Regions from separate parts of the Homo sapiens genome. Here all the other regions are linked to region 1. The links are contacts of gene promoters, found by promoter capture Hi-C in blood cells and fetal thymus (Javierre and others, 2016). All regions are on one chromosome and are shown on one strand. The core of a region is centred on a gene start or on the middle of the fragment in contact, and the rest is flanking DNA. Distances in the headings are between cores, read along the strand shown. Region 1 holds the start of CNGA3 (cyclic nucleotide gated channel subunit alpha 3). Region 2 overlaps TSGA10 (testis specific 10). Region 3 has its middle 38 kb from the start of ZAP70. Region 4 overlaps TMEM131 (transmembrane protein 131). Region 5 overlaps TMEM131 (transmembrane protein 131). Region 6 overlaps TMEM131 (transmembrane protein 131). Region 7 overlaps TMEM131 (transmembrane protein 131).

The links. The method cuts DNA at HindIII sites, captures the fragments that hold promoters and counts their contacts. A CHiCAGO score of 5 or more calls a contact.
Region 2: a fragment that was not itself captured here is called in contact with the fragment with the promoter of CNGA3 in region 1 in 5 of 17 cell types (non-activated CD4 T cells, total CD8 T cells, naive CD8 T cells and 2 more); the score reaches 9.3 in non-activated CD4 T cells.
Region 3: a fragment that was not itself captured here is called in contact with the fragment with the promoter of CNGA3 in region 1 in 10 of 17 cell types (monocytes, M2 macrophages, M0 macrophages and 7 more); the score reaches 12.4 in monocytes.
Region 4: a fragment that was not itself captured here is called in contact with the fragment with the promoter of CNGA3 in region 1 in 10 of 17 cell types (M0 macrophages, monocytes, naive B cells and 7 more); the score reaches 11.7 in M0 macrophages.
Region 5: a fragment that was not itself captured here is called in contact with the fragment with the promoter of CNGA3 in region 1 in 11 of 17 cell types (M0 macrophages, monocytes, M1 macrophages and 8 more); the score reaches 12.0 in M0 macrophages.
Region 6: a contact is called between a fragment that was not itself captured here and the fragment with the promoter of CNGA3 in region 1, in 12 of 17 cell types (M0 macrophages, M1 macrophages, M2 macrophages and 9 more). The highest score is 13.2, in M0 macrophages.
Region 7: a fragment that was not itself captured here is called in contact with the fragment with the promoter of CNGA3 in region 1 in 5 of 17 cell types (monocytes, M1 macrophages, total B cells and 2 more); the score reaches 8.0 in monocytes.

The regions. Positions count from the first base shown.
Region 1 is chr2:98,344,462-98,348,014 of GRCh38, reverse strand. It overlaps CNGA3 (cyclic nucleotide gated channel subunit alpha 3), which reads right to left and starts at 1,559. Exons shown (of 8, transcript NM_001298.3): 1 at 1,481-1,559. RefSeq lists an enhancer at 548-1,059. The HindIII fragment of the contact is 4,952 bases long and covers 1-3,542 here.
Region 2 is chr2:99,019,397-99,022,949 of GRCh38, reverse strand. It overlaps TSGA10 (testis specific 10), which reads left to right. Exons shown (of 21, transcript NM_025244.4): 18 at 2,468-2,670. Among named protein-coding and RNA genes, the nearest start is that of CRACDL, 85 kb to the right of the region's middle. The HindIII fragment of the contact is 166 bases long and covers 1,761-1,926 here.
Region 3 is chr2:97,749,446-97,752,998 of GRCh38, reverse strand. It overlaps a transcript of ZAP70 not described here. Among named protein-coding and RNA genes, the nearest start is that of ZAP70, 38 kb to the right of the region's middle. The HindIII fragment of the contact is 568 bases long and covers 1,620-2,187 here.
Region 4 is chr2:97,766,836-97,770,388 of GRCh38, reverse strand. All of the region lies in intron 33 of TMEM131 (transmembrane protein 131), which reads left to right. Among named protein-coding and RNA genes, the nearest start is that of ZAP70, 55 kb to the right of the region's middle. RefSeq lists an enhancer at 1-275. The HindIII fragment of the contact is 2,744 bases long and covers 392-3,135 here.
Region 5 is chr2:97,785,845-97,789,397 of GRCh38, reverse strand. All of the region lies in intron 31 of TMEM131 (transmembrane protein 131), which reads left to right. Among named protein-coding and RNA genes, the nearest start is that of ZAP70, 74 kb to the right of the region's middle. The HindIII fragment of the contact is 5,728 bases long and covers 1-3,553 here.
Region 6 is chr2:97,814,476-97,818,028 of GRCh38, reverse strand. It overlaps TMEM131 (transmembrane protein 131), which reads left to right. Exons shown (of 41, transcript NM_015348.2): 13 at 2,722-2,830. Among named protein-coding and RNA genes, the nearest start is that of ZAP70, 100 kb to the right of the region's middle. The HindIII fragment of the contact is 3,223 bases long and covers 155-3,377 here.
Region 7 is chr2:97,831,269-97,834,821 of GRCh38, reverse strand. It overlaps TMEM131 (transmembrane protein 131), which reads left to right. Exons shown (of 41, transcript NM_015348.2): 9 at 1-47; 10 at 145-201; 11 at 1,396-1,457. Among named protein-coding and RNA genes, the nearest start is that of ZAP70, 120 kb to the right of the region's middle. The HindIII fragment of the contact is 5,024 bases long and covers 1-3,553 here.

The DNA.
Region 1 (3,553 bases), core at 310-2,809:
GTTGGTGGATACCACACACAAGTGACCATCTCTCCTCTCCCGGCCCAACCACCCGCGTCCCCCATGAATTCTCAGCGTGAACGCACGCTGTACATTGGACTCCGTGCCCAGACAGCACTATTCTTGCTGGTTTTCATGAATGAAAGTGTGTATGTGTTGGGGGGAGGGGGTGGCGGACAGTGCATAATGTTAGGGGCACCGAGCTGTCCACTCCGGGATGGAGTCTGAACCCGGGTGGGTGCCATTCCTGCTGATCCCAGCCTCGCCCCTTTGGAAGATGTGATGGGGAGCGTCTGCCGTCGGGGTGCCGGGCTTCGCTGCAAGGGACTGCTCCCGCCAGCTTCCGGCGAGGCCTGAGCCGGCGGACTGCGTGTCAGAGGCACCTGGTTCAGGCCAAAGAGGCCGGGGCGCCGGCTCCAGGTCCTCTAGGTTCCAGCGCCATTCATCCTCCCTCACGCGCCGCGCCAACCGGAGACCCCCGCTGCAGAGGGCCGAAGTTAAAGTCCCAGCTGCGCCGCTCAGTAGGGAGATTACACAGGGAGAAAAATGAATCACCCGGCCCGGGGTTGCGGGACTGCGAGGGCCTGCGCGCCAAGGCCCCCAGGGGCGTCGGGAGGGGCCGCGGGCTGAGCTAAAGAGAAAAGCCTGACGGCTGGGAGCCCGGCGCCTTTATCCGGTTAGGGGATTGCAGAGGATCAGAGAGCCCGCCGCCCCTTCTCCTCCATCACCGAGCACTAAGCCCCGGGCGTCCGAGATCCCGGGTGTGATTTTATCATTAAAAAAAGTAACCGCGCACTCCTAAAAGAATTTTAATTCTCGCCTCCTCCTCAGCCTACCTTTCTCTTTGAATCCCCAAGGGAAAATAGTCCCCTGGGTTGGGGGGCAGTCCTTCGCCGCTGCCTTCCCCCGGCCCTGCTCCCTCCAGGCCACTGACTCAACCTCCCCCGGCGCGGCGCGGACTCGAGAAGACGCGGCGCCCGCTCCCGACTTGGAGCCGGGGAAGTGGGTCCTTCCCGGACTGGCGGTCCGGGGACAGCGTGACAGGAGGAAATGTATGGGGTGGGGTCGCGGCTGCAAGCCCTACCCGTCCCCAGCGGGAGCCAGCCCTGCTCCTTCTGCCTCCCGCCCCGACGGCTCAGCGGGCTCGGCCCAGCGCGGCTGTGGGACGTGAGTAAAAGGGGGTGCGATCGGCTTGGGGAGCACGGGGAGGGCTTCCTGTCCTTTGAACTGGACTGGAGGGGTATGGGAGCCGGGGAGTGGGAGCCGAGGCCGTAGCCGATCCTTTTTCACTTTCTCTCCAGCCCGCGGCCCGTTTCAGCACCGGGGGCTGCGGACAGCGCCGCGCCCGCCCCTGGAAGCAGCAGCATCCCTCCCCTGCGTGTGGTTCTCTAACTTACCTCCTGTATGGGGTCTGCGGCCCCAGCACACCTCCCGGCGCCCCCCAAAAAATTCCAGCTCAAGAGCCCCTAAAAATCCTTACCCTGCCAAAGTTTGAGCTTCTCCGCGGCGCGCCAGGGTCTGCGGAGCGCCTCCTCCCTCGGCCTCCTAGGCGCAGTTCCGCTCGCTCCCTCCCCCGCGCTCCCGGCCCAGGACTCTGCTCGGCGACTGCTGAAGGAGCCTGTGGCCTCCCTCTCCGTGGGAAAGTAAGGTGAGGCTCTGGAGCCTCAAAGGCGGTCCGAAAGAGGCAGAAGTCATTAGTTCACATCCCCAACCCTCCCAGGGAGGACGGGGAGAGTCAGGGGCAAGAAAGCAAACAAGTCCGTCGTTCCGTTCTGGGTTCTCTCCTAACTGTGGGCGGCCACCCTGGACTCCTTCCTGGGATGTTTTGCTGGTAGTGTAATCCACACTGGATGAGTAAGCAACAGAGATCTGGGGTTTGAAGTTTAAAGGTGGGGACACACACACACACACACGCACAAAGTCTTGGACCCGTTTGCCATCTTAGGGAAGATGTTAGAAACAAGTTTCTCTTTGGGACAATGTGTATTCTCCTTGCAGAGTTTTTGTTTCCTTCCATCACATCAGATAACATCGGATTTCCTGAACTAAAAATTAAAACCACCAATCCAGCTAGTAATTATTTAACCCCTATTGAAGCCCAAGGAACTTAAACTCTTTTTGGAGAAAATAACTTTATTTACTAAAACTCATTTTCCTCCCAGAAGGTGTACTTCCAAGAACACACCTCTCCATGAAGGATGAAGACCGAATCCTGCCTTTCCCTCACCAGCAATTGCATGCTCTGGTTCTGGATCGCAGGAGCAGGTCCCGGGAGGAATCCAAGCCTCCTTGCCTGGGACAAGCCTCTTGGGTTCCAGGTTCTCTTGACTGATACCCTCATGGGAAGAAACTCCACAAAAGCAGATCCCACCGCAGCCAGCTAACCAGAGCTTCTCTGAGGACTTGGAGTACATGGCATTTCCTAGCATACTTATCAAATCGCCTGTTAATTGAACACATTATCTTTAGAAGGCTTAAGTTCATCGAGTTCATGCAATACTTGAAGGGAGAGATGAAGTGTATGTTTTTCACTGAAGAAATAAAGAATTAGAATGGCTCACACACACATGTGCATGTGTGCACACATGTCATGTCTTAAAGGGGGGAAGTAAAACCTAGACAAATTTTCCCCCAAAGAAAATCAGGCTTAGTCGTTCAGATTCAAGGGACTCTGGTAGTGGAAGAGCAAATAAATGGAAGTGGTGAATCAACAAAAGGAAGCCAAAGCCACAGAAGTTGGAAGAGAGGAGAATTCTTATTTTATTACTTGGGCTTCTGAAAGGAACCTGAAATTATAATAATTTCAAGAGAAAATATAATAGATGAGACTTTGCCTCATTGAGGACTTCAGTATTCTTATTCCAGGGAATCTCCACGTGCCTCAATTATGAATCTCCACGTGCCTCAGTTGTTATGTGCATTTTTTTTATAGTTCTCATTGTCAGGAAATGCTTTATTTCTTCTAATCTCATTAATTTATGCAACAAGTTAAAGCTGTTTCCTGCTGGCTTGTCCTCAGGGAAGACTGGAAGCAGATGATTATTTTCTGTTGTCCAGAAACATTTCAGAGTTTCAAAAGAATCTTAAATCCTGATTTTGGAGTAAATAGTAGTGATCATGAGATCATTTTAAGGCATCATCCTGAAAAATCCCCTTGGACTTTGTTTCTGAAATGCACATCATTCCTAAGATTTGAAGGGGAAAACAAGACCTCACAGAATTAATCAAGAAATGGAGAAGTGTCCTGAGTCTGATGAAATGAGATAGAGTGTTTAGCACAGAAATGGGCACATAGTTGGCCCCTAGGGAATGATGTATGTGGCAATAGTTATCATTGAAGAACTTTGGGTGTCTGAAAAGTGGAAACAGATGAAGAGACTGGAAATGAATGGAAAGAGACTGAAGGGGATGTATCTGTGAATTTGCCTGCAAAAGTCATCGAGCTGCAAGATCCTAGGCTGCCATGATGGAGGGTCCAGATTTGGCCCAATGCTCACTCAATGGAGTGGCCTCTGGGGACCTTTCCAATTATTGCTCAAGCTTCAACTGAGGC
Region 2 (3,553 bases), core at 594-3,093, 670 kb before region 1:
AAACACATGAAAAGATGCTGAACATCATTAATAGAAAAATGCAAATCAAAACCATACTATTTCACAACCACTAGGATGGCTGTAATCAGAGAGAAGATAAAAAATGTTGACAAAAATGTGGAAAAAGTGAAACCCTCATACATTGCTGGTGGAAATGTAAAATAGTAAGGCAACTTTGTAAAACATTTTGTCAGTTCCTCAAAATGTTAAAAATTAGATTGCCTTACAGCTCATAAATGTCACTTCTATCTATTCAAGAGGAATGAAAACATGTCCATACAAAAACTTGTATACAAATTTTTATGGCAATATTATTTATAATAGTCCCAAAGTATAATAAGTCAAATATTTTTAACTCATGAATAGAGCTGTGGTTTATCTATGCAATGGAATATTATTAGGCAATAAAAGTGATGAAGTTTTGATCCTGCTAAAACATCGATAACTCTTAAAAACATTGTGCTAATAAAGGAAGCCAGTCACAAAAGACCGCATACACATTGTTTGTTTCCGTTTATATGGAATACCCAGAATAAGGCAAATAGTAGAAAATAGTTTAGGGGTTGCCTAGGGCCAGAGAACGTTCTGTGTTGGGTGTTTTTTTTTTTTTTTTTTTTTTTTTTTTGAGACAGGGTCTCCTTCAGTGGCCGAGGCTGGAGTGCAGTGGTGCCATCTTGGCTCACTGTATCCTCAACTTCTGGGCTCAAGCAATTTCCCACCTCAGCCTGCTGAGTAGCTGGGACTACAGGCCTATGTCACCATGCCTGGCTAAGTTTTTGAATTTTTTGTAGCGATGGAGTTTCACCATGTTGCCCAGGCTGGTCTCAAACTCCTGAGCTCAAGCAATCCACCTACCTTGGCCTCCCAGAGTGCTGGGATTACAAGTGTTAGCCACCATGCCCAACCTTGAGTTTCTTTTTGGGATGATGAAAAAGTTCTCACATTAGATTGTGGTAACGATTGTACAACTGTGTTAATATGCTAAAAATCATTGATGGCATGTGAATTATATTTCAAAAAAGCTATTGTCAAAAAAATCACGGTCCATTTTCTACTCCTGCCAGCAAAGTATATGAGATTGCCATTGCCCAATGTAATGTTCATTAACACAAACTAACAAATTTGCGATAGACTAGAATAGACTAGATAGACTAGAACAGTGTCTTTGGTAGAGTTTTTCCAGTTCAGCTGAAAGAGAGTTTGCTCCCAGTGTGCATTTAGTAATGACATTTTTGGTGGTCATGACTAGAGTGGGGAATGCTGGTGGCGTTGATTGGGCAGAGGCCAGGGATACTGCTAAGCATCCTGTAATGCATAGTGCTGCCCCCACTCCAAATAATTATCCAACCCAAAACATCAGTAATGTTGAGGTAAGAAGCCCTGAACTAGTAATAGCATCTTGTTTTAGTTTATTTGATTACTAGTAAGGGTAAATTTTCCCCATACGTTTATAATTTACTTGTATTTCTCCTTTTGTAAATTTTCTGATCATTATCATTTAGCTCATATTTCTCATCAGTTTATATGCGTTCTTTATGTTAGTAGAGATATAAGCTATTAATTTGATTTACTAAGTTTATTTGTCTTCCAGTTGTTTCCTTTCAAATTTTGGTTAAGTTTATATTGACTATCAAAATGTTTATTTTTTTAATGTGATGAAACTTTTTTTTGCATTGTATCTAGCTTAGAAAATTTCCCTACCTACCTATCTCCCTTCCATGTAATTTCATTTTTATTTCTTTTCACTGGAATTTAAAGCTTACCTTTTCAAATTTAACTTTTAAATGCATATAGAATTTGTTATGTATATTACAAGATAAGGAATAATTGTTTTCTAAATACTAGTGACTGTTCTTCCTCCTTTTTAAAAAACATTTGTCTCACTGAGCATATTTTAAGGCTCAAGATAATTTTCTAAAGGAAGCTTTCCACAAGTTTATGCAAGAGAATATAAGAGATTACTCCTTATATTAATTATAATTATATTTAATTACATTATTAAATATAATTATTAATTATATTAAGAGACTATAAGAGATTACTCTTTATATAAGAATATAAGAGATTACTCCTTATATTCCTTAATTATGGAGTCCAATGACATTCTATAAGCATGTAGCTCACCTAACTCAGGACAAAGCAGTGCTCACAGATATCATCCTGTCAGTCTTGCAGGAGTATATAAAGAAATATCAAAGCTGGTAGTAGAAACTGGTTGCAGTTTGAAATTAATAAGCCTTTTCTTAAATTAATGAATTTTCTGATATGATCAGAGAGATGGAGAAAGTGATACTATACATACATGTGTGGTGTGTTTATTTGGTAAGAAGGAGGGACACAATTTCAAATCACATTAAAAGTAGTTGCCAGTTTATAACAGATTATGAAAATTTTGTGAGTCCCTGATAATATAATAGTTAAGTGAATTAATGGGAATAAGTGTAGATATCTTCTTGTTATTGAACAGAGGGAGAATGAGTTAGATTCTGCTCATTCTGAAATTGAACTCCTGAGGAGTCAGATGGCAAATGAGAGAATCTCCATGCAGAATCTAGAAGCTTTGCTGGTGGCCAATCGAGACAAAGAATATCAGTCTCAGATAGCACTTCAAGAAAAAGAATCTGAAATTCAGCTTCTTAAAGAACACCTTTGTTTGGCAGAAAATAAAATGTGAGTTGTTTAGCAATATAAAGTAAAGTCATACATCTTAATTTTTTGGTACTTTAGTAGAAATTTTAAGCTAGAATTTAGAGAATTTGCCTTCTATACTTTGCCTAAGGATCAGAAATACTGTGATTTGCCTAAGAGGTGGTACTTTTTCTATTATGTTTTTCTTATCTAAATTTAAGTTTAATGATCTCTACTGATTCTTTCCAACAGAGTTTTGAGTATGATAGAATGTCTGATCTAAAATACTGCCTTTAGGAAATATAACAAAATGAGAAAAAAAATTAACCAGTTTGAAACCAGAAGAATTTTCATATTTAGACCAATATATTGCAACCTAGTGTTTGCATTTGCCACATCATATTTTCTTTTGTACCTATTGCATGTACTGGATACCTAGAAGAACACCTGCATTCACAAAATACAGAAGACTTCCCAGGACATTGATTTTGGCTTCTTTTCTTTCTTTTTCTTTTCTTTAGGATCTCTAGCACTCCTAGCACCTTATTAAAAGACATTTGGCTGGAGAATTGGGTGGAATTGCCTCCCTGTATAGTGAATTTTTTTTCTATTAAACTTGATCATCTCTCATAAAAACTGATGGGGGACCCTTAACCCCTGTTCTTACCTGTCCCATCTGTAACACTTTTCATCCAGCCTCCACTCTGTCCTCACATCTGAGGTCAGGACATGGGGAAGGATAAGAAGCATGGTCTCAGCAATCAGCCACTCCTAGGAGCCCCTGACTAGGCAAGGGCTTCAGAGCCAGGGCCAGTTTCCTTCAGAAACTGTTTTCAGGTTATAGTGGCGGTGACTGAGTCCTTCTTTTCCATTACTGTAGCTAGCCTATTATGATTCCTTCAACAGGTTTTGCAGGATCACTTTC
Region 3 (3,553 bases), core at 654-3,153, 600 kb after region 1:
AATTATTAACTCTCAATGTAAAAAATACGCTTTAGTAATTTTGTTAGAGATGCCTTTGAGTAGCCTTGTCCTAATTTTACTTGTTCCTATTTCAAAATGCTACCACAGAGTTAAATTCACCCTTAAAATATAGACCAATCCCAGAAATTAGGTCATCACAGATGACTAAAACATTTGCTCCCACATGGGCAGGTTGGAAAAAATAAAAGAACAAATGTTTATATTGATAGTATAAATAAATGTGATTGGGGCTAGTCCACAAAATTTGAATGCTTTAGGAACAGGCTTCTAACCCTGACAAATGCCTGTAGAAGTTGGATAACAAAGACATTTTAGATGCTTTGCTATCTTAGCTATAGTAATAGTAAAAGGTCATTCAAATACAAAGACTCAGATCCTAATGGCAGTGTTTGGGCTGACCACTGTGCTAAAGAAACAAGATCAGCCTATAGAAACACTCCTGTGATCTCACCGGTCTTGAGAAATTCAGAGGCTGCTATTAGTGTCAGAACAAGCCCCTGGTTTGAAAAAAGAAAATGGGGAAAGTTCTGATGCCTTTTACATCTTAGGAGGGCCAGCTGATGTCATGAAAAAAGGTGATAGTGGAATCTAACAAAAATTCTTCATGATGTTACCCATAATTAGATAGCTGTAAAAATAAATTGGCAACAATATTAATTAAGCCAGGTAATTTTAGAGGTATTGCCAATAATGGTTACAAAACATCCCCCTGTGAATGAAATCCTGATAAAACATTTAAATGTAGACGTGAGCAGGAACTGGAGAGCTTGAAGGCCCTTCAGACCCCTCCAAGTAGACTCCATACAAATGCCTTCTGCCGTGGATTATAAATACATTCTGGTTATTGTTTGTTTATATTCACTGTGGATTGAAAATTTCCCTGCCAGAGTGACAAAAAGTGCTTGATTTTGTTTTCCAACCTGGAAAATCCCCACTTACTTCTAATGACAGAGATACTCCTTTTTCCAGACCAATGCTGTGGTTTGTTTGGCCCTGCTGAGTCTCTTGTTGAAATATGATCCCCAGTGTGGAAGGTGGGGCTTGGTGGAGGGGATGGAGCCCTCGTGAATGGCTTGGTGCCATTCTCATGGGACTAAGTGCTCACCCTTAGTGCCCACAAGAACTAGTTGTTGAAAAGAGCTTGGCACCTTCCCCCACCTCCCTCTTCCTCCCTTTCTCACCGTGTGGTCTGCACGGGGCTCTCCTTCACCTCCACCAGGAGTGCACCCAGCCCAAGGCCCTCAGCAGAAGCCAATGCTGCTGCCTCTACAGCCTGCAGAACCCTGAGCCAAATAAACCTCTTCACACATTACTCAGCCTCAGGTGTTCCTTTACAGCAACACAAAGGGACTAAGACATACTGTTATTAAGAAACACTGAAGTTGTGCCTTTAATCCAGAGATTTCACTGTCCTTGTTTTCTCCAGTCCTCTAGAAAAACAGAACTAATGGAATTTTTTTAAAAATAGCATACCTCTCAGAAACCTCCAAAATTCTACATCTTAAGAAATTACCATTAGCATTATACGATCAACCACCTCTAGGTCCCATGTTGCTTCTTATGAATTCATAACATGCCACTGTATACAGTTTGAAGCTTCATCCCATCTTAGATTCTACATGATTACATTTTATTTCCAGCTTTATCTCAACATAAATATGAACTATACAGTATATCCAAAACACACCCGCCTCTACGTGATCTACAGCTTCTGTACAAAAGGCACACAAAGACACGAAATTTATTGCTATTATAATAATATGCTCCCCATACGATCTGTGCTTCAGTGGGACACTACATCTTATTAGCCCATGTCAGGCTTATATTGGTCTGCCACACACTCATGTATATTCAGAGTGGTTAGATATGTTCAGATATTTACAACACCCACGTCTCCAGTAATCCATTCTTTGAAAGAATACCCAGCAATCCAGCGTAAAATTATCATAGATGATTCCAAAACCTTCCAGTAGCGATCCTTGATTTGCTCTTCATGCATACTCTGCAAACTCCAGTTCCCACCAAAGGAATAAAACGACTAGAGAGAGAGTTCAAAACTAGTTGGTAATTTTAGCTGAAGCCATAAACGAGACCACTCTGCTCTGAAAGTCCAACCGACTAATCTAAGTCCATTCTTTAGAGTTATCAAGGACAGTCATATAAGCTTTATTTTCCTCTTAGCCAGCAAAGGGACAGGTCATGCCATAACAAATACTCCTTTTTTATACCTAGAAAAACACCACAGGGGAACAGGACAGTTTGTGACTATTAGAAAAAGCCTTGACCTCTAAAGCCAACCCAGCTGGCTTCTGGAACATGCGCCCATTACCTGGAGGCGCTCTAGGCCCTTGTCTTGCAGACCTGTTACGAGGACTAACAGTCCTTGCGTTTCTCGTAATTACCTGTAAATGGTTGGCTAGTATCTCCTGTCTAGAGTTTTAGATGGTACTGCACACCATTTCTTTCATCATGCGATTCAACAACTCGCTTTACAACAGACAGGAAAAAACTGTTAACTCTGGTGTAACTATAGACTGCGTTCATTAGACACTCTTGAGCCAGCCTCCACTCCAGAGCAAACCCCTGACTCCATAGACCCACCCCCCAAATAAGCTAATAACCAAGGCCCACATCCTACAATTGCTACTTCCTGACACCCTCTTAGGAGACACCCCAGCTCACTGTTGTTTGGGTCCCCCTTGCTGCAGGGAGCAACAAGCCCAGCTGCTTTAACTGCGGTGCGTTGCTGCTGCACTGCGGGGAAGGGCGTTGACCATTTGGGTGTACACATGAGTGCAGTGGCATGGATGAGTGTGGCCTGGGTTCCAGTCCTGGCTCTGCCATTTACTGATCATGGCCCTTGGGCACACTCTGCCCCTCTCAGAGCCTCAGTTTCCCTATATGCAAAACAAACATCCTCAGGAGGATGGTGTGAAACATGAGGCCAAATAAATAAGTGGTAGCACTTCCTATTGTCTGTTACTGTGGTATTCCAAAGACATTTCCCAGTGTTAAACCCCTAGAAATGGCAACTTCCTGATGGGGATGGAACTCATTTGGCAGGGGGCATGAGGCCACCAATCTGGAGCCTCCTGAGCTCCTTGCCACTGCCTGGGGCCCCTCCTCCCACGCCCTCATCCCTCCCACCCTCACCACTGGGTCCACCGCCAGCCTGGGCTCCCGTTTGCCTCAGCCCCGCCTCTCAGCAGAACTGCGGCAGCATGTCCAGGGACAAGGTTCTTAGAGGGACTGGATTTGGACCATTCCTCCCAGCCAGATATTTTGCAGCAGGGAGAGGAGGCTGCATCAGATTCCTATGCCCACAAAGCACCACCTCCTTTTCCAGTTAAGGCAATGTGGGGCTGCAAATTTTCATGCATTCAGGATCCTTCTGTAACTTAATTCCTTTGCCGTCAGTCCCCTCCCGCTTCTGCAGAATGCATGCTCCTAGCAACTCTCACAGACCTGACCCCTGACAGTCATTGCCCACCCGGAACTCCAAAGCCAGCAGGGCTTGCTGCTGCCTAGAAAG
Region 4 (3,553 bases), core at 514-3,013, 580 kb after region 1:
GAGAAATCTATATGCAACCTTTCTTCTATCCTCCTTTATCTGATCTCTTTAAACTCACTGATCTCTTGTTTTTCTGAACTCGAGGATGAAAGTATTGAGTCAGAATTTATTAGTTCATCAATCATTTAATCAAATAAAGACTGGTTTTTTTAATAACCGGAGAAGGTTGGCTTTCTGAACAGAGCCATTCTGTGACTCCACTGCATTCTGATAATAAATGTCAAACACTGTCACTCAGAATCACAGCCAGTACTAGCTTTAGTGATTCCTGAAATTCCTGTCACCTTTTAGTGTGTTAATATATAACCCCACATGTCTGAAGGACAGGTACACATCTTTTAATAAGATATGTCATTAATAAGGCATATATCATTGCTGTCTTTCGGAAGCTTTGTGAGAGGTGATAAAGCCAGAGGAGTGGCTCAGCCCCATCCATCCACACTCCCAAGAGTTGACCTCAAAAAAATCACTTGCTAGGAAATAGGAGGGTGGGGCTGCAGCAACAGAAATCTGATCTAACCGTGTTTTCCAGCTGTGGCAACATAGAAATGGGCCTGCAGACCTCCGGAAAACTGTAGTCTATGGCAGAGATGCCAAGGAATGGGAATCAGATCTCAGGCACTGAAGGTTTCTGCAGAACCAGGAAGGGCCCAGGGCATCCCTGGTTTAGGACCCTGAGTATTCACTGATCCTTTTGTTTTTCTATTTGTTTATCAACAGTATATGTTTACATAAATGTAATAATCTAAAATAAGCAAAAGAAGTAGATTAATCATATTATCTGTAAAAATCTGCTTAAATAACACTCTCAACTCAGGCCCAAGGGCTGTGAACACCACACTGCACACGCCAGCCCCAGACCTGTCAGCACTCAGAAAACCCTGCTCCACAGCTGGTCATGTCCCTAGCTGTGTCCTCAGCTCTGCCTCTCTCCTCCCCAGACAGAAATGTGTACTGTGTATTACAGGAATAAAAATAGGCCAGGCTTGAGTCAGGTGTAACGTTGTGAAAAGCAAAAATAAAAAGAATACGAAATCTCAGAATATTAAGAAAAAGAAAAACATTATTATTAAAAAATGGAGGAAAATATATTATAAAAATAAGCCAGGTGTGGTAGCTCACATCTATAATCCCAGCACTTTGGGAGGTCAAGGCAGGAGGATTGCTTGAGCCCAGGAGTTCAAGATCAGCCTGGAAAATATAGCAAGACCTTATCTTACAAAAAGTTTTTCTTTTAAATTAGCCAGGTGTGATGGCACACACCTGTAGTCCCAACTACTAGGGAGGCTGAGGCAGGAGTTAGAGACTGCATAGAGCCCAGGAGTTAGAGACTCAGGAGTTGAGCCCAGGAGTTAGAGACTGCAGAGAGCCGTGATTGCACCACTGCACTCTAGCCTGAGCAACAGACTGAGACCCTGTCAGTAAATAAATAAATAAAGCCTGGCATCTGAACCACCTGTTTTTCCTTTTTAAAAAGAATCACTTCAGTCTGGGCACGGTGGCTCACACCTGTAATCCCACTGTAATCCCAGCACTTTGGGAGGCCAAGGACGGCAGATCACCGGAGGTCAGGACTTCGAGACCAGCCTCACCAACATCGTGAAACCCCATCTCTGTTAAAAATACAAAAATTAACCAAGCATGGTGGCACACACCTGTAATCCCAGCTACTCAGGAGGCTGAGGCAGGAGAATTGCTTGAGCCTGGGAGGCAGAGGTTACAGTGAGCCAAGATCGTGCCACTGCACTCCAGCCTGGGTGACAGAGTGAGACTCTGTCTCAAAAAAATGAATCGCTTCAATTAAGTTGGCCGTTACCCATTTTATTCAGAAGCCTTAAAAAAGGATTCTTGATAGAGATCATCTGGCTTAATTTAGGAAAGTATGAATCAGCAAAAATAACAGGAGTTGTCTGGCACCTTTCTTCTTAAAAACCAATTACTTTTACAGTGGCACAGAATTTAGTTTTGTATAAATAGCTACCCACGCACACTTAAAAATAGATCACACCCACACCACCTCCACCACCAGAGGGCTGGTGTCTACTATGGGAGCCTTTGGGGTTTTTTTAGAAGATGGGTTTTTTAAATAACCCTGTCAGTCAGAAGTAGAAGAGATACAAAAGATTTTATAATGTAGCATTCATCATCTGGCCCATAAACAGTGGATTTTTCACTTCAGTTTGTTATCCTACCTAAAATTCTAGTTATTTGGGCTAACGGAAACCCTTTGGCTTTTTGGTTTGCTCTCTTACTAATTCCAGATATAATACCTACTTATTATTATATAATACCTACTTGTGAAATACAACGAAACAAAAGAAAATGTCCTTTGACCCTACCACCTTATAAAATGTTTGTAAATAGCCTTCTTAAATGTATTTGTTTATTTATGAGCTCACACTTTACATTGAGGATGTTGGGGAATGAGGGTGTTATGGTGCCGTTAGATCGGGAAAGTTGGAACTCTTCTCACCTTTGAAATCTCCTGTGAATGAGCACAGCAGATTGCCTCTGACCCAGAACCTAGCTGAAATGTACTGTATCCTGTGGGCTGGGAGGACAGAAGGCAACATGGTGCGTGAAGAACTTGGAGGATGGGGCCGGGAGTCCTGAGTAGTATCACACACTTGAGGGTTGGGAGCAGAAAGCACACTGAAATGTGGAAAATGCCGGCGATGCATCCATTTTACACCATCTGTGTAGACTTTGTAGATTTGGAATGAAAAGCTAGCCATCAGCTCAGCCCTGAACTGACAGCTGTCACCAGGAGCTCTGTAGAGATCCCTGAGGATTCTTGGAAGATTTCTCCAAAGGGGCCACTGGGCTCTCTGAGCTGCATCTCAGCCTTTGCTGGAAAAGGTCCTTCTTGGACCACATTAGCTGAGCTCCTTCCGGAGGTCCTCCCAGTCCCAGACATGGTCTTGGTGGGCATTAGAGATGTGGCTTCATAAAGAATGCCTTTGTAGCCCATATAGGTATTCTACTCACAATGCTGTCTTCCATGGGCCAGCTACCCAGTTCATTTCTCTCAGAGATTCATTCTTTCCAGCTGCTGTCTCCCAGCAGGTTTTCCTACCTCACTTATTGAGCTTTGGAAACTTAAGATATATTTATACATGCTTATTATCTTAAGCTTACCTCAATATCTTTCAGAAAGCGTCACTCTAAATAAATCAATAAAAAATATATTTAATTTTTTTGCTTAAGATTAACCCTGAGTTCAAGAATAAGGAAGAAAATTCATCCTAGCCCACTCCCTGTAGTAACCAGGAACTTAGCTCTGGGTCACCTCATAATTTCTATGAGAAAAATTTGTTCAGTTTTGAATAGTGGAGTCTCTAATGTTATAGATGTGAGATCTTTCAAAATCTTCATGTTCAGGAATCCCACTGGTGGTGGTCTAGATGCTGGGAGAGACTCACAGGCAGAATGACCGCACTTCCAGCCCTGAGCAGCAAGTTGGAGCTAAGGGCTTTCTTTCTATGCCTTATCTGAGATAGATCCTCCCTCACGTTACGTATTATTAAATAATGGACCTCAGTTCATTGTCAGC
Region 5 (3,553 bases), core at 612-3,111, 560 kb after region 1:
TGTAGCCTGCTGAGTTGAAGGTGGCTGTGGAGCATCCCAGCAGAAGCATCTGTTAGGAACTTGGTCTCAAGGGTAAGAATTGGGACAAGCAGAGAATCCTGAGGGCAAGGCCAAACGAGAAGGCAGCCAGCAGATAGCATGACAGACAGCATAACAGAAAGCAGTGGAAGGTGTGGTTAGCACATGCCAGCAGGCAGGGCCAGGCAAAGCAGAGGCTGAAGAGTGCTCGCGGAGCCTGGACTTGAGGACATTATTTGTGACCTTGGAAAGAACAGTTTGTGTGAAGCGCCATCACCTCTGACTGAGACCAAGTCACTGTGGCTTAGAGTAACTTTCACATCAGACTGTTAGTAGTGGCCACTAACTAGTGAGTGTTTTGGGAGCTTTTACTCTTTAACCTGTATTTTCCCTATTTAATTTTTAACAAGAAAAAAGTATGCATGTATTGTATGGTAGGTTTTTAAAAAATATAGAGAGTTACAACCAAGAAGGCAATATTTTTTATGAAAAATGAATAATACATGGAAACATGGTGCTTGAAAATATCTCTGGGCCAAGGTCAGAAAGCCTATAGAGCTGAGACAGTGGTGCTGATCCACACTTGCCAAGGTTTCAGACGTGACCACAATTTCTCGTGCACCCTGGTGACTGGCACTGCTTGCTACGGTTTTCCAGTAAGGCAGCGCTGGGCAGAATGGGAGCAAGACCCAGTCTGTGTGATTCTAACTCCTGCACTGTGCTGCCTCCTCGAAGAAAAAGAGGGAGGGGGAAGAAAATGAGGAGATAATTGGTGAAACCATGTGCCCAGGTGGTGGAGTGGGCCGAGACCCAGTTTGGTAGATGATAAAAGGATGGACAGTCCGCAGGTGTGCAGATGTGCGTGAGTTGGTAGAGATGGAGAGGCAGGATACGGGTTTTCACTTGAACTTGAGGAGTCAACTTGAGGCAGCATGTGGGTTTAGGGAAGTTTTTACTTGAACTAAGTCATCCTCTGAGACTGCTGGGGGAAGTGGTAGGGTAGAAACACAAAATAGACAAAGTTTGGAATAGTCAGATTCCACGTTGCTGAGAATGTTGTAGGCCCAGGGAGTCAGCAGGGGCAGGAAACTTGGATCTGTACGCTGGCCCCTTCAGCAACATTGGAGGCCCAGCCGAGGGCCACTGAGGCACTGCCTCAGGTTTGTGTCACTTTCTCACTTGTACCCTGCAGCCCAGTGGTGAAGAATGAAAACTGGGTAGTTGGTGGAGTAGGACAGTGCTGGAGTTCTGTGGGGCAGGGACAGCAAAAAGACAGCGAGTGAGGACGTCACAGGAGTGCTGGCAGGAGAGCGGTGGGGTGCTGTGCTGGCAGTGTCGAATTAGCAACTTGGGGAAGGACCTTTAGCCAGAAGGAACCTCACAGATAGAGAACATGGATGAGTCAAGGGATGGGAAATCCAACAGATTGAATTTCGAGGATGGTGGGAGCAAGGAATGTTAGGAGACTAAGGTTTAAAAAGGAGGTGTGAGTGTAAGGTTTCAGAGGAAAAGCAGTTCTGGGCAATACCAGGTTCGTAGGTGCAGCCTTGGAAATGGGATGTCAGAGTGAGCTAGAGGTGAGGTCCACAGTCCTTATGCAACACTCTGGGTGCCTCGTGTGTTTGAGAATTCAGAATTTTGGAAAGGTATGTAGTCATGCACCACACGATGCAGAAGACTGTAAAAGTAGGTGAACATCAGCAGCCACCAAAAATATATAGTCATATTAAGTTTTGTTTCTAAATGAGTTTGGGGAAAAAAACCTTTGAGAGTTTTTTGGATTTCAGATTTACAGATAAGAGATTGTCCACCTGTATAAGGCCTGGGGCCCAGACAATGGGAGGTCCAGGAAAAGAAGAAGTCCGTAAGTGTGATGCCAGCACCCCTGAAGCCTGGGGAAATTCTTTCTGGAGGTCACAGTTGGTGATTCTCTGGAGGTTGTCCAGAGATGTCCCTCTCAGGTGCTGTCACTGATATGACAGGGCCTAACGTGGGACCACATATGTTCAGAGAACCCATTTGCTAGTGATTGAAACTTCCCTGAAATAGTTCTTTTGGGTGGCAATTAAATGAAATGATTTAAAGTGGGAGAGAGGCAACTAACTAGCTCAGACTAACGATTCATTCAGAGCACCTAGCTCAGACAAATTCATTACACAGCATGTAGTGAAGATAAAGACGAAGTAAATGTCTAGGACATGCTTTTTACATAGATAATTCATACTTTGCCTACATTTAAAACAGATTAGAGGCAGTTTAAATTATCATAGCACATATAAAACAATGAATAAAAGTCAGAAATGGTTTTTGGTGTTTCATCTGTTTTTTAGTTACGGTACTATCAGCAGAAACCTCGAATAAAGTTAGTTGTTACCATTAAGTGTTAAGTTGAACTGCAAATTTTCTGGCAGTTATGGTTGAGGAAAAATGTCATATAGTTCTGAAGGAAAAGGGGGCATAGGAGTTCATCTGGAAAAAACAGTTTGCTGGCATTAAATTCCTGCCTGAATCTGAGGACATCGAATAGTAGAACGGATATCGTGGCTCTGTTACAGAGACTATGGCAATGTTCTTCACATAGATCCTTTCTGTCGGCCCCCCGTCAAACCCAGCATCTTCACATTGAATGAGAGCTCCTCACCTACACCGTGCCTCTCAGATGAACACTCAGTCACCCCCACATGCACAGCATTTATGGTGACCATGGGTAAGTATAGCTAGTGGGTGGTTCTCTACACTAAACATTTAGCAGCCTAAGTGTTCTTCCACACACTGAGGTTAGCCCCAAGGTACCCCACAGTCAGAGACAAATGTTTTTGTCAATAAAGAGTTTTTGGTTTTTGGTTTTTGGGAGTTTTGTTAAGACAGAGTCTCACTGGCTGGAGTGCAGTGGTGTGATCTCAGCCCAGTGCAGCCTCCCAGACTTAAGGGATTCTTCCACCTCAGCCTCCCAAGTAGCTGGAACTTGTAGGTATGCACCACCATGCCTAATTTTTTTATTTTTATTTTTGGAGAGACAGGGTATCCCTATGTTGTTCATGCTGGGCTCAAGCAATCCCTCTGCCTCAGCCTCCCAAAGTGCTGGGATTACAAGTGTGAGCCACATCGTATCTGGCCACTTGCTTGTTTTTTAGCTTTTTATTTTGAGATGCTTGTAGATTCACGTGCAAATAATAAATTCAGAGATCTCTTATACCTTTTACCCAGTTTCTCCCAATGGTAACACATTGCAAAACCACTGTACACTATTACTATACCCAGGATAGTGATGCTGATACAGCCAAGACACAGAACATTTCCAAGCCCACAGGAATCCTCATGGGCCCTTTTCTAGCCACACTCACTTCCCTCCTTCTTCAGCCTACCCCTTAGTCTGGCAACTATGATTCCATTTATGTAACATTCTTGAAATGACAAAATTGTAGAAATGGAGGAGATTAATAGTTGCCAGACTAAGGAGAACTTTTCCCCAAAAGGAATGTACCATTTTGGTTTTTCTGAGTCAGTTTAATTCTCTGGAGATTCACCAGTGCGT
Region 6 (3,553 bases), core at 517-3,016, 530 kb after region 1:
TTTAATTGGAACATTCATTGAATTTGCTGTCACAACATTTTTAAAATAATGACTTAATGGCTGCTTAACCATACAGATAATTAAATGAGAATTGAACCTCTGAACAGGGCTTTTTTCATAGGCACCCATGCAACTGAGTAGCTGCTATTAAGCTTAAACTTTGGCTTTATGATAAAGCCATCTGTGCTCAGAGTCCACATAGTAAAGCTCAGCTCCTCATCGGATGAGAATATTTGATCAATGAATGTAGGAGGACACTGGCACACTTCACACAGTGTTTATGAGAGTATCTATGCCTGCTGCTCACTGTGGAGAGTTCTAGGGAGGGTCTGGAGCAGCTACGGAGGTGGGGCTGGCCTCAGGGTTCATCCTGTGAGCTCAGTGAGGACTCTCAAGGAATAAAAATCACATAGGCAGCATACTTCATGATACAGTTGTCAAGAAATAGTATTATAGAAGACATTAATGCCACAGTAATTTCTACATTTGTGGTAAAGTGTTCTCTATGCTGCTGAGAGACCACATTCATGCCTACCAGTGTCAGTATCACGAGGTACATTGTCTTCCCTTACAGAGGAGGAGGCGGCTAATTTTTGTATTTTTAGTAGAGACAGGGTTTCACCATGTTGGCCAGGCTGGTCTCAAACTCCTGACCTCAGGTGATCTGGCTGCCTCAGCCTGGCAAAGTGCTGGGATTACCGACGTGAGGCACTGCACCCAGCCAGGATAAGAGCATTTAGGACCCACCCTTCACAGATGTGCCGGAAAATTCTCCACATGGTCTGCAAGGGTGAAGAGCTGCTCTGCAAGGGTGAAGAGCTACTCTTCTCTAGCTCCTGTATTGACCACCCACTTAATCTTTCCCTTCTTGAGATAAATGCGATGTCATTAGTGTTGGTTCTTCTGAGATCGTAGGCTCTAAGATAATTGTTTCTTAAAGAAATATGTAAAATTAAATAACAACAGCAAAGGGAAAGCATCTTTAAGAGCAAATGCTACATTTCTTAAAAGTAGGTTTTTAATATCATGTGAAAATCCCCCCACCATTCACCTCTCCCACTGCCATGCTGGATCCCCACACAAAATACCTCTGAGATTGCTGTGAAAATCAGTCAGGAAGTGTGTGTTATTTAACTTTTAATATTGTTAGAATGCACCTTATATATGTATTAACTCTGCAGTGTTCATTTATCAAGCATCTTTCTCATCAAAAGTTATTCTTCATGATTTTCAACAGAATTTTCTTGAGCTTTTTGACCACTTTATTTGCTATGTATGATACAATGTCATGAAATGCTTAAATGTGGCCCTTGTAATCAGTCTTACGTCAGAACAAATAGTGAAAAATTGAAAGCATCCAGAGATGGCTAACTAGCAAGCAGAGAAATAAGAGGCTGAATGGGAATTTTTAAAATGGAAAGTCTGTGTCTGCCATAGTCAAACACTAGATGTCATACCATTTCCTTGTTCTTTTTTGTCATGAGGTTGGATGACACACATTTGCGGAACTCACATATGAATTCTTCACATAAATGGAAGTGTTCCTAAAGTACTCTAAGAGGATAAACATAAACAGCTTCTTTATTTGCTTTGAAAAGAACCATCTAATGGGTACCTAGATTGGACCCAACTGAATCAATTTCTGTAATTCCTTATTTATTTATTTATTTTTTAATTTTTGTTTTTTTGGGTCAGAGTCTCGCTTTGTTGCCCAGGCTGGAGTGCAATGGCGCAATCTCGGCTCACTGCAGCCTCCACCTCCCAGGCTCAAGCGATTCTCCTGCCTCAGCCTGCCAACTAGCTGAGATTACAGGCACGTGCCACCACACCTGGCTAGTTTTTGTGTTTTTAGTAGAGACAGGGTTTCACCATGTTGGCCAGGTTTGTCTCGAACTCCTGACCTCAGGTGATCTGGCTGCCTCAGCCTGGCAAAGTGCTGGGATTACCGATGTGAGGCACTGCACCCAGCCAGGATTATTCAAAACTGCTATGAAATCTGAAGTTTTTACTTCATCTAAGATGAGGACAATATAATATGATGACAGGAGGGGATTTATCTCCTCTTATACCATGAGTTTTAGGGTTGGCTGGTTTTTGAGAAGAGCTCTGAATTCTTGACTTTTCTTATACCATGCTACTTTATTGGTGATAGAGCAAGACTTTGGCCATACAAGAAATGTTATTTCTTTCTCAGTTCAAGTGTAAATCAGCAGGGCTAAGTGGGGGGTAATTTTGCCTCCAAGGGGATATCTGGCAATGCAGAGAGGCATTTTGGTAGTCACAGCTGCAGGGATGCTACTGCCGTCTAGCAAGTAGAGGTCCGGGATGCTGCTAAACATCCTACAGTACACACAACAGCCTCCGCAACGAAGAATTAATCTGGCCTAAAATGTTAACAGTGCCAAGGATGAGAAATTCTGCTGTAAGTAAAGCCAAAGCCTGTGGCTACAGCAAAGCAGCTTAGGTACAGTGTTTTACCTCCTGAACCATGCTCACCAGCTAATTCCTTATCTGCTTATCTTATTACAGGAAATATAAAACATTTTCCCCCTTTTGTATGAAAAATGTGATGTTTCATTTAAAATGTTATAAAAAGTGTTCTGTTGGCCAATTTGGAAGCTCAACTTTTTTTTTTTTTAAGATTTTGTCAATTTACATAAATTCACTAATTCTCTTTGGTAGTAAAAGGTAACAGAGATTATTTTTTATGCTTCCTTTCAGCATCGAAGGCAAAAAAGCCATCTCAGTTTTCTGGGAAAATAACAGTTAAAGCAAAGGAAAAGAGTTATTCTAAACTTGAAATACCATATCAAGCAGAAGTTTTAGATGGGTGAGTTTCTTTTTAAAATAAATTCTATTACTTTTTACTAATCAGTAAATTATATTTTCCTGCTAAATGACCTGCAGAAATACTAGCCACGTTCACATAAACTTGATGGAATTATTTTTTGAAAGAACAGCCCCAACTATAAAAGAGAAAACCTCCTATATTTTGTTTATATTTTACTTTTTTAGAAGAAAAGGGTAAGTGGGATGATAGGATTTGGGCTTAAATGAAGACTTAATGATTCAAAAATCTGATTTTTTAAATATTATTTAAATCATTTGAACCATTTCCTTTCTGACATTTGTTTGTAATATGTAAGTGATTGTGGCCTATTATTAAAGTATTTTGACACTCGAAACAGAATTCTTTATATTCCTTTATAAATTCATAAACACTTCTAGAATTACAACTTTTTATAAATGGGAAGTGACATGTTCATTTTCTATTGTACTTTAACCAATAGTAGTTTAATACTCAACTTGGCAAAGATTCATTTTAGCAAAGCTCCTTGTAATTCAGTGATAAGCATGATTTTTTTCAAAGTAAAGCTTTTTTTGTTGATATGTCTTTGATTCTAATTGTATGATTCATATAATTCATTAGAGAATGGTTGTTTGTATTAATTTCAGTATTTTGCAAGCTAAATTTTGTTTTAAATCATATAGTCAATCACTAAAATATTATAGTTCTAAATCTTTAATACAATCCCTAATGCTAAATGTAAAT
Region 7 (3,553 bases), core at 670-3,169, 510 kb after region 1:
CAGCACAGAGTTTATCATTCTTCCTGTTGAGGTTGAAGTTACAACAGGTTAGTGGAAAACTGATGAAATCGAAAGTTGTTTTGTTTTCAGTATAGCTTACTCTGGCAAAGTGAAAAATAATTGTTGACTTTTCTTTTTTCCAAGCTCCTGGAATTTATTCCTCAACTGAAATGTTAGATTTTGGTACACTAAGAACACAAGGTAAAAAAATCTTTTAAAAGAGTCTTTATGGAGTTTTTTTTTTTTTTAACCCCTGTATTCAGTGCTGAATGGCTCTACTATGTAATTCAGCTTTAAACATTATTTCTCAGTTGGTTGCATGATCTTGTACAAATCTCCTTTTCAGACTCAGCGCCTTTACAGGTTTATACCCCATTCCGCTGAGGGGTGGGTGGCATTGCTTAACAGGTTGGAAAACAAGGCCATGGGATAATTTAAGTCATCTAAATGGAAGATTGAGGCAGAAAATAGTTTTCTAGTTTCTTAATCCAGTTGCTCATCAGTTCAGTTACGCTGAATCTTGATTTTTACTTCTGGATTTTGTTTAGATATGAGTTATTAAATTACATTTTGACAAAATGTTGAAAGTTTGTTGCAGCTGTTCAGAAAACTCAAATTCTGAAATTAAAAACAACTAAGTAAAGATTTTTGCTAAGGAAAAACTAAGAGCACTTGTAATTTGGGATGTATATGGACTATATATAATAATATGTAGTTAAGATTGAAGACCATATGTTTAAAAATTAGATTTGCTGTTAGTATATTTTTACATTGTAAATTATTAATTTGCTTCATTATGTTTTGCTGGAAAGCTAAAAGATTAGTAATGTCTGACTTCACAAAAAAATAATATTTGGGGGGCTGGGCATGATGGCTCATGCCTATAATCCCAGCATTTTGGGAGGTGGAGGCAGGCAGGGCACTTGAGGCCAGGAGTTCAAGACTAGCCTGGCCAACATGACGAGACCCCATCTCTACTAAAAAAATAATACAAAAGTCTGCTGGGCATGGTGGTACATGCCTGTAATCCCAGCTAGTCAGGAGGCTGAGGTAGGAGGATCACTTGAACCCAGGAGGCTGAGGTTGCAGTGAGCCAAGAATGCCCCACTGTACTCCAGCCTGGGTGACAGAGCAAGATTCTGTCTCATTTAAAAAAAAAAAAAAAAAGTATATATTTTGGGGTTTTCAAAAATCTGGTTTAAGAGGGAACAGTTCTTATAATACACAATGTCCTTATGAGTAAAGCAATTACCACCTAATGTTTCTTTTTATTAATCTTATTGTCATTGTATTTCACAAATTGATAGCTTCAATTTGATATCTTATAAGGTAAAGATTCTAACTTGGCTAAAAAGCACCTTTTTAAGAAATATTTCTTTTCCTCAATTTTAACAGATCTACCAAAAGTTTTAAACCTTCATTTATTAAATTCAGGAACAAAAGATGTACCAATAACAGTAAGTTTTTACTTCTTTTTTCCCCTAATTTATATATTCTTTGTTTTTAAATGTATGACAAAGTTAAAAATAATTAAACCCTTATTCTAAAATAATTATATTTGGTGATGACCTGGTGACACTTTGGTTCTAAGTGTGATGTGAGAAACCTGTTCTGCCCCAGCCACCCGGATTTTAAGGATGAGAGAGAAATGGGCAATCTTTTCAAAGTAAGTTTGAACCAAAGTTCATGAGTTTCTTATACAGGCACAGTCATATAAAAGGCCTGTTCTGATAAATCCTAAAATCTGTGGGCCATGTGTATAGAAAAACAGGTTATAAGGATTTCATCAGATTTGGTTGTTGGAGTTAAGGTATGGGCAGGAAAGAGGAAGAAGAGTCAGATGAATTGGGAAGAAAATAAGCAAAAAAAATGTTGTAGGTAGTGGTAAAGTGCTGTTAACACTTGTCACAGGCTCCCTAACTAGCAGTTATTGAGTTACCGTAGGCAGCACATTATAAACTAAGGCCCTCTCTCCCTCACACATACATACAGAGTAAGTAACTTTTAGGCCATATGGAATTGAGGTGCCGTTAGATAGTTTTAGGAAAAAAAGGGATATCTAAGTTTTGCCTTGGCCCACAACGTCTCTCCCTGATGAGGTCCCCAAGATATATACATGTGTAATCATTATATAGGAAAATAGGACATTTTTATTATAATTTGTGCTGATGCCAGAAACTTAACTTCAGTGAACTGACAAAATGAAATATAGATCATGTGGGCTTGAGATTTAAGGGACCTTTGTCCATCGATGGCCATACCCAGATTTTATCACCAGCTGGTGGAGTAGACCAAAGAGAGAAGAATATACAAACCCCAGCGAGGAAGCAAGAGATGGTCTTCCCAGGTAACCACATTCTGATGCGCAGTGACCTTCCTCACTAGTGGGACCGGGATGCAGGCATTGTCTTCATATCTGACCTAGCATTTCTCCTAGATGGGAAAGTGCCTTTACTTAGCCCAAGCAAACCAGCCTAACTTTTTACGTACAATAAATGGACTGAAACAAGTATCTTTTTCAATAAACATATTATAGGAAAATGAAATTGGCAATTAACCCTAAGAATGTGAATGAAGAACTAGTACTCAGGTCACTTATGACATGGAATTAAATAGGCCCATGTTTGTCCTTTTTCTTATTCACTAAGGAGTTTTAGGATATATTGTAAGTGAACATTTTTGCTCTTACTGGGTCAGGCACTATGCTAGTACTGCTATGTAATAAATGTATTACTTAATACCTATATGGTGCAGTGGTCCTAGTTTTCTAGATAGGAAAGCTGAGTTAGAGCTGCTTTTTTTTTTTTTTTTTTTTTTGGAAGTGACTTACACAACTATAAAAAATGCAAAAATAGGCCAGGCATGGTGGCCTCACGCCTGTAATCCCAGCACTTTGGGAGGCTGAGGCTGGTGGATCACTTGAAGTCAGGAATTCAAGACCAGACTGGCCAACATGGCGAAACCCTGTCTCTACCAAAAATACAAAAATTAGCTGGGCATGGTGGCATGTGCCTGTAGTACCAGCTACTCAAGCTGAAGCAGGAGAATTGCCTGAACCTCAGAGGTGGAGGCTGCAGTGAGCCAAGATCACGCCGCTGTGCTCCAGCCTGGGCAACAGACCGAGACTGTCTCAAAAAAAAAAAAAAAAAAAAAAAAAGAGGTATGTGAAACATGAAAGTATATTATACAGTGTCACTTAGCAATCACATCTTTATGAATATATCATTTTAATTGCATAGTCTATTTCTGTTAAAAACCTATATATCTGTTAATATAATACATCTGTACCTACATCTGTACCTACCTATGTGTGTATCTTTTATAATATCCAAAGCCCAAACTCTGCCAGTGTTTTGGTAGTTTTCTCTTATTCCCGCCTTCATTCACCCATTCAATAAATATTTAATGAACATCAACTGTATGCTAGCTGCTATGCTGACTGAGAATACAGCAGTGAATCAGACCACTGGGGTTCCCTACCCCATCAAGCTCACTGTTTATCAGGGCTCTCTGGAACTCTGGGAGATATTTAGATTTTATTCTAAGTGTAATG